Linked DNA regions of Homo sapiens: region 1 is linked to region 2. Evidence: promoter capture Hi-C in 16 types of primary human blood cells and fetal thymus (Javierre and others, 2016). All regions are on one chromosome and are shown on one strand. Each heading gives the region's core, a stretch centred on a gene start or on the middle of the fragment in contact. The rest is flanking DNA. Distances are from core to core; before and after follow the strand shown.

The links. Contacts are between HindIII fragments. The CHiCAGO score rates a contact against its expected background, and 5 or more counts as called.
Region 1: a fragment that was not itself captured here is called in contact with the fragment with the promoter of WSB2 in region 2 in 1 of 17 cell types (activated CD4 T cells); the score reaches 5.6 in activated CD4 T cells.

What each region holds. Positions count from the first base shown.
Region 1 is chr12:106,295,001-106,302,079 of GRCh38, forward strand. It overlaps a transcript of TCP11L2 not described here. Among named protein-coding and RNA genes, the nearest start is that of TCP11L2, 4.2 kb to the right of the region's middle. The HindIII fragment of the contact is 2,139 bases long and covers 4,621-6,759 here.
Region 2 is chr12:118,055,803-118,062,733 of GRCh38, forward strand. It overlaps WSB2 (WD repeat and SOCS box containing 2), which reads right to left and starts at 5,377. Exons shown (of 9, transcript NM_018639.5): 1 at 5,234-5,377. The coding sequence starts at 5,246. LOC124903030 (a long non-coding RNA gene) reads left to right here and starts at 5,658. Exons shown (of 2, transcript XR_007063479.1): 1 at 5,658-5,878. RefSeq lists a silencer at 4,787-4,836. The HindIII fragment of the contact is 4,146 bases long and covers 4,181-6,931 here.

The sequences.
Region 1 (7,079 bases), core at 4,440-6,939, about 12 Mb before region 2:
GGTCTTCGTAGCTCATGGAACTGAGACCAGAGGGTCTTGGTAGCTCATGGAATTAGCTATCGAGTGACTCTAACATATTTTAGACTGAAGAACCAAGCTTGGGAAAGAACTAAAGGAAGCCAGGCATAGCTAAGAACATGCTAAGGATGCCATAGCTGGTGTCATCAGCATTGGGCACCACCACTGTAGCTCTGTGAATCACCCCTATCTACCTGTGGTGGTCAGCATCTGACAGAACATGCGTAGGTCCCATGCCCATGCTACAGCCACCAGGGTCTGGGAAGACAGAATGCCTTTCCAGCTCCAGTAGTAAAGTATTAATGGGATTAGCATATCATCCCCTCTCTGGCTTCTATAATAAATGATAACAATTCAAATACCATTCGGAAAGCTGGATCACCAAAATGACAAATGGCCCCCACAACATTATTATCCCCATTTTATACCTGTGAGGATAAGGACATATGTATAATGAGTGGTGGAACTTGGCTGTCAACCCTCTGGTCTGTCTGAACCCAAAGCCCACCCTCTTTCCACCATACCACATTTCCTCATTATATACAATTATTTTGTACCTCAGTTGATTAATTCTTTGAAAATTTTGATCTACGTAATGCTTGTAACTTTTAAAAAGTCATTTTTTTAAACGTCCACATATCATCACAGAGGTCTTCCTTTAAATAAAGAATTCAGCTTCAGCATTAAAATTAAATTTATTTGTATAATTATGTTACACCGAGCATTTTTTTTTTTTTAGACTGAGTTTCACTCTGCCACCCAGGCAAAAGTGTAGTGGCGTGATCTTGGCTCACTGCAGCCTCTGCCTCCTGGGTTCAAGTGATTCTCCTGCCTCAGCCTCCCAAATAGCTGGGACTACAGGAGTGCGCCACCACGCCCAGCTAATTTTTTGTATTTTTAATAGAGACGGGGTTTCACCATGCTGACCAGGCTGGTCTTGAACTCCTGACCTCAGTTGATCCGCCCACCTCGGCCTCCCAAAATGCTGGGATTACAGGAATGAGCCACTGCGCCCAGCCTATACTGAGCTTTGTGGGAATTTACTGATAATATACATGCAGATGTACATGTAACATAAACAATGGCATGGCTTGGGATCCCTCTGAGGGAATTGGCCAGAAATGTTTCGTGTGTGCATGTGTGCGGGTGAATATATATCTATGTAAACAGCTTCATATTTTTGTATAAAGCTGCATTCCATTCTTGCTTTCTAGAAGGCACAGCCACCCCAGTATCTGGTCCAGGCACCCTTCTAGAGTAATGGAATGTGATTATAAATACTTTGGGCACTTAGTTGGTACAGAGCTGGTATGCTTGTTGATATGTTGTTATGGAAATTAGATAATTATGCCAATAGGTAATACTTTGCATGTGACACTGCACGTGTATATGTGTGTATTTGCGGAGAGAAGCCATGAAGTGAGTTCTTCTGGTTTCTATTCTTGACCTGCCAACTGAGTGAGTCACTGCTGAGTATCCCTTTAGTCAACATAAACCCTTAGTGCCCTAGTATATGACCTTCCTCTAGAATGCCCAGGAACTCAGGTAAAAGCTACTATTCAGGCATTTGAATGTTCAGAGCTCTCAATTTTTTTGTCTTCAAAATGTACGGCTGGGTGTGGTGGCTGATGCCTGTAATCCCAGCACTTTGGGAGGCCAAGGGGTGGATCACTTGAGGTCAGGAGTTCGAGACCAGCCTAGCCAACATGGTGAAACCCCATCTCTACTAAAAATACAAAATATTAGCCAGGCGTGATGGCACACATCTGTGATTCCAGCTACTCAGGAGGCTAAGGCAAAAGAATCGCCTGAGCTCGGGAGGCAGAGGTTGCAGTGAGCCGAGATCATGCCACTGAACTCCAATCTGGCTGACAGAGTGAGACTCTGTCTCAAAAAAAAGAAACAACAAAAAAAAGGTAGTATAATTATTAAAGTCCCATATAACTTTGAGAAAGGACATTTGTCCAGTTTATCATCAAAGAAAGGGAAGGTTTTAGAGGTCAGAGTTTGGGGCAAAAAACATGTTTAAAATGAAAGCAAACTCCATGCACTTTGGCTATCGAAGAATAGGGCTTGAGGAGAAGAACTTAAAAAGTAAAGATCAATATTCCCCCACCCAGCATTAATAATTTTGACATATCATAGTGAGGGACTTTTTGTAAATCTATTCTTTCATATATTTTACATGAAAAGCTCCATTTGTTGTCATGGCTTTCTTAAATATGAATAAAAAAGAGATGGGAAATTTGCTTATTGTGCAGTATCAATAGCCTATCTTCACTAAGGTATATTTAGGAGGACATACAATAATAAGAATAGTTGCATTGTATGGCAGTGTGAAATAGACTAGTAATATATGAATGACATTCTCATTGTAAAAGAAATAAGCTGCTTGAATGTGTACGGAATAAACCAGGAACTAACTTGCCTAAATAGCCTTCTAAACGGTTGAGATTCTTTTTAGTCCATTTCTATGTATTTCATATACACACAATGCATATGTACTGTCTCTAGTGTAAGCTCTCTCTAGCATAAATCGTGTCACCCCATAATCAGTGTTCTGTAACTCATGTTTTCATGTTGAATCGTGTACCTAAAAAGTCACATTTCTTAATCCTTCCTTTATGTTTTCTGGAGATTGCATCTTATTTTAGTAGCTCTTCCTCATGCCCATTTGACAATTTCATTTGATTTTAAAACTGAGGGCCTGTGTTCATCCATGAACACTTTAGAAAAGCAATCATTTAGAAAATGGTTGATTGCCTGCTGGCCTGGAGATGAGCTAAAGAGAGTGACTGGCTTGGTCAGAGGTCTGAGCCATCACCTGTTTGGCCTCCCATAGGTGTTCCTTTGAGCTTCAACTCTCTTTGGCCCCTCCCACTTCCTGCCCCAAAGTTGTCTTCACTGCTGGTTCTCACTCTTTCTGCTTCCCAGGGGACAACAGTGGTGCCCAGGTAAGAGGAAGGGGCCCAGGGTGGGGTGTAGGGAGCACTAAGAATATTTGTCTTTTTAGTATGTGACAGGGTCAGGGACTGGGCAGTGCCTAAATGTGAAGGTACAGGCAATTGAAATGAGAAATAACTGTTAATTTTTTTACTAATTCAGTTCAGTGGAGTCAAAAGAAAACTGGTTTTGGTGCTTTGGAAAATTGTTCAAGCATCAATTAATAGTCAAAACTGGTCAATTATCTAAATCTACCTTATCTTCCAAATCACAGGATATAGAACAAAAAAAAATTGCCTAAAAGGTGTGGTTAATTTTTTTTAATAGACCTTATTTTTAGAGCTCACAGTAAAATTGAGTAGGAGGTATGCAGTTAATTTTTGAACATTCAGGGCCTAATTCTCTAGTTGGTGTATTAGCCAAATTCATTTTCTTCTTTTTGCTTTCTATTGTATTTTCCCCCTCACTGATTTTTGGCCCTTTCTGTAGCACCTGAAGATGGACAGGGGAGAGAAAAGAAGTGGGATTCCTTTGAAAAACATTTTTTTTAATTTAATTTTTAGTTTAAAATTTTTTTTGAGACAAAGTCTCGCTCTGTTGCCCAGGCTGGAGTGCAGTGGTGAAATCTCAGCTCACTGCAACCTCCGCCCCCCAGGTTCAAGCAATTCTCCTGCCTCAGCCTCCCAAGTAGCTGGGATTACAGGTGTGTGCCACCACGCCCAACTAATTTTTTGTATTTTTAGTAGAGATGAGGTTTTGCCATGTTGGTCAGGCTGGTCTCAAACTCCTGACCTCAAGTTATCCACCTGCCTCGGCCTCCCAAACTGCTGGGATTATAGGTGTGAACCACCATGCCCGGCCATTTTTTTTTGTGAGACCAGGTTTCACTCTTGTTGCCCAGGCCGGAGTGCAATGGTGCAATCCTGGCTCACTGCAACCTCTGCCTCCTGGGTTCAAGTGATTCTCCTGCCTCAGCCTCCCAAGTATTTGGGATTAGAGGTATGCACACCATGCCTGGCTAATTTTTTGTATTTAGTAGAGACAGGGTTTCACTATGTTGGTCAGGCTGGTCTCGAACTCATGACTTCAGGTGATCCACCCACCTCAGCCTCCCAAAGTGCTGAGATTACAGGCCTGAGCCACCATGCCCAGCCCATTTTTTTGCTTTTTGTTTTTGTTTTTTTCAATTACAATGGAGTCACATCTTACAGGAGGGGTTAGGCTCTTAAGGAAGACCATGAGGTCAAAGTGCAGTGAAAATTACTCTTGAAAATTTTTTAATGAGCCATAAGACCTGGGATACACCAAGTTTTTGTCGTTTTTTGTTTGTTTGGGGCTATTTCTTTTCTTCCAGCATTGAAACAGACATAAGTTTCTTCAAGTGAGCACTGGTTGAAATAATTGATTGGCACTTAGGGGCAGGAAGATAAGCACCTTTAACCACTAGACTCATATTCTGTGTGGGGAGATCAGGACCAGTTACATAATTTGCCAGGTCCAGTGCAAAATGAAAATGCAAGGCCCCCTTTCAAAAAGCACAGTATTAAGAATCTCAACACAACAGCAGCAATGTATTAAACCAAGCACAGGGCTCTTCCAAGGGTGGGGCCTTGTGCAACTGCCCAGACTGCACGAACATGAAGCCAGCCGTGGGAAAGAAGCTTGGAACATAATGAGAAGCTCAGAAACTCAGATAAACACAGTAAGAGAAGCCTCACAACTCCCATAGAGAGAAATAGGGGACAAGATCACTGGAAGTATTTAAATTATTCTCTTGTGTTCCTCATATTCTGTCCTAGATGAGTCCCGTATAGCTAAATTTGCATTACATTAAATCAGTACAATATGCAACTCCACTAGAAAAGTTATAAGGCTGAGAGGTTGCAAATCCAACTGTAATTACATTTTTAGATTTTTGTCAATGATTTATTATAATTTAAAACTCAGATTTCAGATGTGTAAAAAGAAAATGAGTATTTCTATTTCTTCATCGAACAAAAATTTTGATCTGCCCTTAGTCTTTTGCCAAGAGTGATAGACCACATTTAGTCTACCGTGTAATTTACAGGGAGAAAAAAAAACTGTATTACTGTGAGTTCTCTAAGTGGTTCAAAAAGGTAAGTTAGAAAAACTAGGTGTAATAATATGTCTTCTTCAAATAAAATGCTAATTATTTTACTTCTAAAGAGGTTGCCTTTTCAGATTTTGTTGTTTTTTTTTTTTCCTCAGAAAGCCATAAACATAACCTGAGCAGGGAAGATTTTGTGTTATGACTGTCTGAGCCCTCTGAGCAACAATGTGATACAAGGCTCATTTTTGAGGGAACTGCCTTATATTTTACAGCACTCCATTTTTTCAAAGTGTTGTTTTTGTTTTGTTTTGTTTTGAGATGGAGTCTCGCTCTGTCGCCCAGGCCGGAGTAAAGTGGCGTGATCTCGGCTCACTGCAACCTCCACCTCCCAGGTTCAAGCGATTCTCCTGCCTCAGCTTCCAGAGTAGCTGGGATTACAGGTGCGTGCCACCACGCCCAGCTAATTTTTTTGTATTTTTAGTAGAGACGGGGTTTCACCGTGTTAGCCAGGATGGTCTCGATCTCCTGACCTTGTGATCCACCTGCCTCGGCCTCCCAAAGTGCTTGGATTACAGGCATGAGCCACCGTGCCTGGCCCAAAGTGCTTTTATACACAAGTCAGGCCAAGGGCAGTTGGTCAGGTAATTCACAGAAGGGTTTTCAGATAGCAAGTTATTTAACATTAAAGTAACAGAAGATAGTATTTCCAGCATCTTTTCTTATCTCAGCTTGGTTCTCTGATGTTACAGTTGAACTTGCTTTGACAAAAGCTGCTTTCCTGGTGGCTTTGAGAGCTACATATCTGAACTTTAAAAGAAGTGTCATGCCTAGGATCAGGCAGCTGGTCACTCCAGTATAAAGGACAACTACCCTGACTCATGGTCACCTGCTCCAACTTATGTCATAGCTCAAAACAATACTTAAATCCTTACAAAGCTAACAAAGGAAGTAATGTTGCCATGTGTCATTGTCACAGAATTACCAGAAGTTTGGGGGATTTGGGTGTTCATCTTTCTATTGTGGAGTTTTTAGGGTGGTGATGGCAGTTGTGTGGTGGTTGTCATTTGGCAGGAATTGAAATTGGAGGCTTCTGTCATTCTGATTACTTATCCAACGAATGACACAAATAAGAGCATGTTTGTAGGGAAGAACTCAGGTGGGGACAGCACCTTCTATTTAATCTCTTAACCTGTATTATTAGGTTGTATATTTTAGGAGAAGAGAGGAAAGTGGCAAAAGGAGGCACAGATACAAATTTATACAGATCACCAGCTAAGTTTGGCCACAGTGGTTTGCCAAAGAATTTCAATAACTAATACTTAGAGTGCTTACTGTGCACCCTGCTAAGCACTTCACATGCTTTATTTCACTTTATCCTCAAAATAACCCAAGGAAATAGCTATCATTGTTATCCCCAGAGACCAAGATCTCATGGATAGTGAATGTCAGAGCCAGGACTGGAACCATAGAGGAGTCTGTGTTGTAACCACTGAACAACTGACTTTCTACCCTGCTTTAAAATGTTGCCTGTTGTTTGTTGTTGTTGTTTTTGAACGGTGGTGGCCAATCTGCCTCCACAATCCAGACATAATTTCGGCACTAAACAGAAATACTTTAGTCTATACAAACTTCATGTAAGTAGTTCCTGCATGAAACTATTTCCCAAGTAATACAGCACCGATTTACACCTGGCAGAAGGCATAGTTTTGATGTGAACAGTTGGGGGAAGCTTGTTTCTCTACACCCTCAAGCACGCCCACAGCAGGAGCTGAGCAGCAGGCCAGACGGCACAGAGCCCTCCTGGGACTGGTTATTTACATTAACCAAGGTGGAAACTTCTCCCGGAGATAGGTGCTGCCAAGAACCCTAGAGGAAGTAAGACGCTTTATCTTTTGCACGCACGCCAAGTCTTCAGAGGGCCTGGATGGGTGTGACTCCAAGGAGCTAATCGTCCCGTGCAGGTGCAAATCTAGACCCGTGTTTATGTGGAGGTGTAGACGCAACTGGAGATGACCCGGTTAGTGGCTGACGTGCGTGGGAAAGCCCA
Region 2 (6,931 bases), core at 4,127-6,626:
CAGGTTTTTGCTATCTTGGCCAGGCTGGTCTCAAACTCCTAGACTGAAGCAATCCGCCCACCTCGGACTCCCAAAGTGCTGGGATTACAGGTGTAAACCACCACGTCTGTTTTTTTTTTTTTAAATCTCCCAAACCAAATCCATTAGCAAGTTCTATCAAGTCTGTTTACAAAAGACTTGCCAAATCTAACCCCTCTCCATCTCTACTCTCATCTATGCAGCATCATCTCCCGCCTGGCCCAGTAGGCAACCTTCCAGCTGCTCTCCCGGCTTCCCCTCTAGCCCCGCACCATCGGTTCTCCTTGCCTCCAGAGTGGTCAGTTTCAAACACTGTTAGAATAAAACTCTAGCTCCTCACCCTGCCCTCAAAATCCAGCATAATCTGAACTTCCCTGGGCTTGTACTTCTCTCCCTGCCCCTGGCTCCAACACATTGCCCTTCTCTCTACCCTCTGCCAATGCTCAATTAGTTCTGACCCTAGGCCTTTGCACCAACCATGCCCTTCACCTGGAATGCCTCTCCTCGGCTGGCATCTACTCTTATTCAGGTCTGGCTCAAATGACAACTGCTTAGAGAACTCTTCTGACCCCTAGTCAATCTCCTTCACAACCCCTCACTTTATTTTCTTTACAGCTCTATCACCATTTGATCGCCATCTGTCTCCCCTCCACTAGGATATCAACTCCAGGGAGCAAGAACTTTGTATATTTATCCCCAGAGCTGGCAGAGTTCCTGGTGGAGGGCAGGCAGTGAGTAAATATTTGTCTAATAAATACATATGGTATAACTCTTTAAACAAAAAAGTAACATAAAGCTGGCCAGGCATGGTAGCTCATGCTTGTAATCCCAACACTTTGGGAGGCCGAGGCAGGCAGGTCACTTGGGGCCAGGAGTTCAAGACCAGCCTGGCCAACGTGGTGAAACCCCGTCTCTACTTAAAATACAAAAATTAGCCGGGCATAGTGGCGGGCGCCTGTAGTCGCAGCTACTCGGGAGGCTGAGGCAGGAGAATCACTTGAACCCGGGAGGTGCAGGTTGCAGTGAGCCAAGATTGCACCACTGTACTCCAGCCTGGGTGACAGAGCAAGACTCTGTCCCCAAAAAATAAAAAATAAATAAAGCCCCTTAAACTCTGATGATGCTTATGCCAAACATTTCACATGAAATGCTTCTTAAACACAAGCCCTACTCAGAATTCACACTCTATTTCTGTGATTTAGGGATTTAATCTCTTGCTATTTCAGGTTCAGGAATCCAGGAGCTAAAAGAAGAACAAACCCAGTGACTCCTGTCTCTTGGAGTCTGGGCCCAAACTAAACTTGGCTACACGGAGAGAAAGCCCTAATTAGTGCAGAACTTAAAAACAAAACAAACAAACAAAAACAGAGCTGGGGGTGGGGTATCTAGCTTCAACTGGTATGGTACTTGTAGATCCTTCTTGGTGAAAAGGCCTATGAATCAGGGTTTCTTTGTTTTCTCCTTTTTTTTTTGAGACAGAGTCTCACTCTGCTGCCCAGGCTGGAGTGCAGTGGCGCCATCTCGGCTCATTGCAACCTCCGCCCCCTGGGTTCAAGTGATTCTCCTGCCTCAGCCTCCCGAGTAGCTAGAATTACAGGCATGCGCCACCACACCTGGCTAATTTTTGTATTTTTAGTAGAGATGGGGTTTCACCATTTTGGCCAGGCTGGTCTCGAACTCCTGACCTCAGGTGATCTGCCCACCTCGGCCTCCCAAAGTGCTGGGATTGCAGGCGTGAGTCACCGCGTCCAGCCTCTTCTTTTTTAAACTGATAAATAAAAATTGTATATATTATGGAATATAACATGTTTTGATATATGTATACATTGTGGAATGGCTCAGTCAAGCTCATTACCATATATGCATTACCTCACATACTTATTTTTGTGTGGTGAGAACACTTAAAATCTACTCTTAGCAAATTTCAAGTATATCATATTCATATATATATTTGGGTTTTTTTTTTTTTTGAGACCCAGGCTGGGGTGCAGTGGCTGAATCACAGCTCACTGCAGCCTCAATCTCCCACCCAGATTCAAGTGATCCTCCCGCCTCAGCCTCCTGTGTATCGGGCTACGGGGGCGTACCACCACACTCAGCATTTTTTTTTTTTTTAAATTAAATTTTTAGTAGAGATGGGGGTCTGGCTATGTTGACCAAGCTGGTTTTGATCTCCTGAGCTCAAGCGATTCTCCTGCAGGCATGAGCCATTGCACCTGGCCCTGGATCAGGGTGTTCTAATTAAACAATGGGATGTGTTTGGACAATCAGGCTGAATGGAAAGGTATATATTATAAGCCTCTTCTAGGCAAAGCAGTTAGCCTTAACACAGAGATGAAAGCTATGACCCCAGCCAGCAGGAAGCTAGGTGATTTTTCCTGTATCAGGACATGTACATTAGATATTCCACCGGCCTCAAAAGCTTTCCTCAGTTGCTCCATCTTATCATTCAGGGATTGGTCCTCATGTCACCTTCTCAGAGACCATCCTGGCCTCACTATCTAAAGCGACCATACACTTTCCTTTTTTATTTTTTATTTTTTTTGAGACAGGGTCTTGCTCTGTTGCCCAGGCTGGAATGCAGTAGCACCATCACGGCTCACTGCAACCTCGACCTCCCCAGGCTCAGATGATCCTCCCATCTCAGCCTCCCCAGTAGCTGGGACTACAGGCACATTCTACCATGCACGCGCCTATAGTTCGGTATTTTTTGCAGAGATGGGGTTTTGCCATGCTGCCTAGACTGGTCTCAAACTCCTGAGCTCAAGTGATCTACCCAAGTTGGCCTCCCAAACTGCTGGGCCACTGCGCCTGGCACCATTCACTTTCCTTTAACCATTTGATTTTCTTTATAACCATCACTTAGATATTTTCTTCTTCTTTTTTTTTTTTTGAGATGGAGTTTCACTCTTGTTGCCCAGGCTGGAGTGCAATGGCGAGATCTTGGTTCACTGCAACCTCCACCTCTCCAGTTCAAGCGGTTCTCCTGCCTCAGCCTCCTGAGTAGCTGGGATTACAGGTATGCACCACCACGCCTGGTTAATTTTGTATTTTTAGTAGAGACGGAGTTTCATTATGTTGGTGAGGCTGGTCTCGAACTCCTGGCCTCAAGTGATCTGCCCGCCTCAGCCTCCCAAAGTGCTGAGATTACAGACGTGAGCCACCCCGGCGCATTTGGTTGATATTTTCTTGATTGCCTGTCATTTTTACGTATTTATTGTCTGTCTCTTTCTGAACCCACCCAAACTTGCCAGTTCACTGCTATTGGGCTACACTGTCTAATAGGGAAATCACATGTGGTTACCAACCACTTGAAATGTGGCAAGTCAGAATTCAGATGGGCTGTAAGTAAAAAATACACAACACGTTTTGAACACTTAGCACAAAAAAAAATCTAAAACATTACATTACAATTTATTTGATTACATGTAGCAGGAATATTTTAGACATGTTGTATTGAAAGAGTTTTTAAATTGTCACCTAGTTCTTTTTTCTTTTTTTTAATGTGGCTACTTGAACATTTTAAATTACATACGTGGCTCACATTAGACTTCTGTTGGTCGGGGCTGGCCTAGAGGGTGCCTGGCACATAGTAGACGTTCAACAAATATTTGCTGAATGAATAAGTGAAGTCTAACCATTGCTCTGAAGATTTCAACTGTTGCCCATTGTATTTCCTTTACAATGGGCTTTATTCCATTTGAAAATAAGTTAAAACTCTGGCCTTTTTTGTACAGTAACTTGGCAGCTCTCAACAACCCTGCCCACACCCTCAAAACGAAGTTGTCAATCTTTAGGAAAACCCCAGAACTGGAAACAGATTTCTGTTAAAAAGGCAGGCTAGCTACAGATTGCTTTCAGATTGAACTGTAAGGAGGCAATGGAAATCAAACGGAAGCTATAAAAAGATTCACATAGGATCTACACAAACAGTAGGGGCCCTTTTAAAAAGAATTCTACGGGTAACACTCACTGAAAAGAAAGCCCTTATCTAGATGGGAAGGAGAGAGAGCTGCCTTTAACTCAATGCCTGACTTCAGCAAACAAAGAAATGTCATTTCCTAAATTAAAAAGTAACACCACCCCAGGGAATACCCAGATTTCAACCTTCCCACCCACAGTAACAAGCCATCAGCAATCAGAACCCTCCAGACCAGGATGAAGCTTGAACTTGGCTGCAAGATTACCATGAAGTTCTGGAACAAATTCTGAGCCCTAGGCCTTGAACCTGCTCTGAAAATTTCTCCTAAGGAAATTACATTTAAACTCGGGTCCTTCAAGACCTGGGACTCCCGGAATCAATTCTAAATCTATCCCAAGTGGGGTTCCGAGGGAAGGTCGTTGGAGGGGAGAGGGCCAAGGCGTGCATGCGTCTTGGGGTTTTTTTCCCCTTGCATAAGAGACACACCTTTCCCACTGAGATTTTATGTTCATCTGGGCTGGCTTGAGGTATATCCAATATCCTCTGACTTCCACGCTGTCTTCTGATGGGGATGGCAGTTAACAAGAATAGAGGCAAGGTCCCCACCCATCAGTGTATCCTAAATTTGCCTGATCATACATGTCACCAGGGATCAGCGTCTCCAGTCCCGCCCCACCTCCACTGACTTAATCTCCAGTGGGAGAGGCTGGGAATAGATTGTTTCAATAGGGAACCCAGACCCCAGACCCCATTTTTACCGGGTCCCAGCCACCCTCCGAGGAAGGTACTAGGATTATCCCATTTTGCAGATCAAAACTGAGACGTGGGTGGCGGTGGTTCAGTGGCTTGTCCACTGTCACGATCACACAGCTTGTGAGGGACAGAGGTGACTCCCATCCAGACATGCAAGTGCGTCCCCTGGCACCTGGGTACCCAGGGGCACCCACCCCCTTGGGGATCTCCGTTTTAGGGCTTGGTGCCCCCCGCCCCGAGTCCCACCCGGGAGCCCCCTCTGTCCCGGTCGGGGGATCTCCTCCCGCAGAAGCCCGATCTTCCCGATCCTGTCGCCGGCGGGAGTCAGGGTGGCGGCCACTGACAACGAAAGTGAAACAAAGCTGGTCGCCGGGCGCGCACCCCCGCCGGCCCCGCGCGGACCTCCCAGGCCGGACGCCCCCGCCGCGTCCAGCCCCCGCCCCACCCCGCCCAGCCCGCCCCGGGGTCGCCTCCCCCCTCCCCGGGGAGAACGGGCCAGGGCCCCGCCGGGCGGGAACGGGCGCGCCCGGCCCCACTCACCTCCGGCCTCCATGGAGGACGCGAGCGGCCCCCGCGGCAGGCGGCGGGCGCCTCAGCCCCCCGGGCCGCGGGCCCTCATGCCGCCCCCGCGCCGCCCGCCCCGGCCAGGCCGCCGCCGCCGCCCGGAGAGGCCATCAGCTGCTTCCCGTCACATGGCGGTGGGCGCGGGCGGAGACGCGCGGGGGCGGGGCGCAGGGGAAACGGAGGGGGGGTGCGGACGGGATAAAAACGGTGGGGGGCAGCTGAGGGAAAAGATGGAAAATCGGGGAGGCGGTACGCTGACGGGATAAAAGCTGAGGGGTTGCTCAGGGGAAACGGGGGCGGGGAAGACGCGCGAACCAGATAAAAATGGGGCAGGGGTGGGGGGAGCTGAGCGGAAACGGGGTGGGGCGCGAACGGGATAAAACCCAGGGGTTGTGCGGGGTCCTGAGGGGAACCAGCGCCGGATAAAAACGGGGAAGGGAGGGAGGTGAACAGAGCTGAGGGAAACCGGGAAAAGGGGAGCGATAGAAACCGGAGTAGGGGAAGCCGGGCTCAGGGGAAAAGGGGGTGTTGGAGAGTGGTAGAGCCGGGCTGAGAGAAAAACCAAGCAGGGGAAGCGGCGATCCGGGGAGAACGGAGAGAGGGAGACCGAGGGCTGTGGGGGTAAGGGGAACCAAAGGGGCTGAAGCGAAATCGAGGGGAGGGGCAGGTGAAAATGGAGCCATGCGAAGGCCGATGAGGGGGGAAACGGGTAAAAATGGGGGCGGGAGAAATAGGTTGGAGGGAATACTGGCCGAGAAGAAACCTGGGGAGAGCTGGGCTTAGGGGAAAATGGGGAGGGGGTGGAAGGAAGGTGTAATAACCGGGTGCTGGGGAGGACGTAAGAATTGGGGGGTGCGGCGAGGGTCAAGGCTAGGGTAAAACAAGGGGGGCTACTCAATGGCTCCGGTAATGGGAGAGGGAAGTGAGGAGAACACGGGGCGGTGGGGAGAGGAGGGCAGGGTGAAAACCGGAGTGGGGGTGGGAACGAGATAAAAAACGGGGCAGGAGCGATTCGGAAGAAGACTGTCCCCTTACCTACCTACGGCGACAGCCTCGCCTGTCCCCGTCCCCCTGAGAAACCTGCTCTCCCTGTCTACCCGCATAGCCTCAAGAAATGGCTCGCTTGGGTCAGACGCCCCCTTTTTAACATTCCAGGGCCAGGGCAGGAGTCATCATGGAGGCTTTTCATGCCTGAAAGACCCCATTTCTTAGTTGTCCGGTCCCCAGTAGTATCAGTGGCTTGGGGATTTCTTACTGAGCTCAGCTCATTGTCCCCAAAATGCCTCCCCTTACCCCCAACTCGAGCGCTTCCCTTTCCTGCTTTGGGCCCAAGCTCTTCCCGCGGTTCTTGGTGTCAGCTTCATTCAAGTCACTCTCCCGCCTCTCATTCCTTTCTCCCCGCCTTTCTTCGCTTCCCTCCAAGTGCCCTCTCCATTTGCCGGTCACTGGTCCCAGAGCTCCGGATCGCAGTGGTTCCATTTTAAATTTCTTTGCTTCCTAACGCAACCTATGTTTTCTACGGTAACTGAGGTTCCCGTGTTCTTTTTCACCATGGTCTCTCCGTTTTAATGTTTCGGGTTTTTTTACCCAGGCCCCTGTTTTATGAGCCCTGGGTACGTCCTTCCTGTGTCCCGTTTGGCCTCCTGGGTTACACTCCTGTTCACCCCGCTTGGC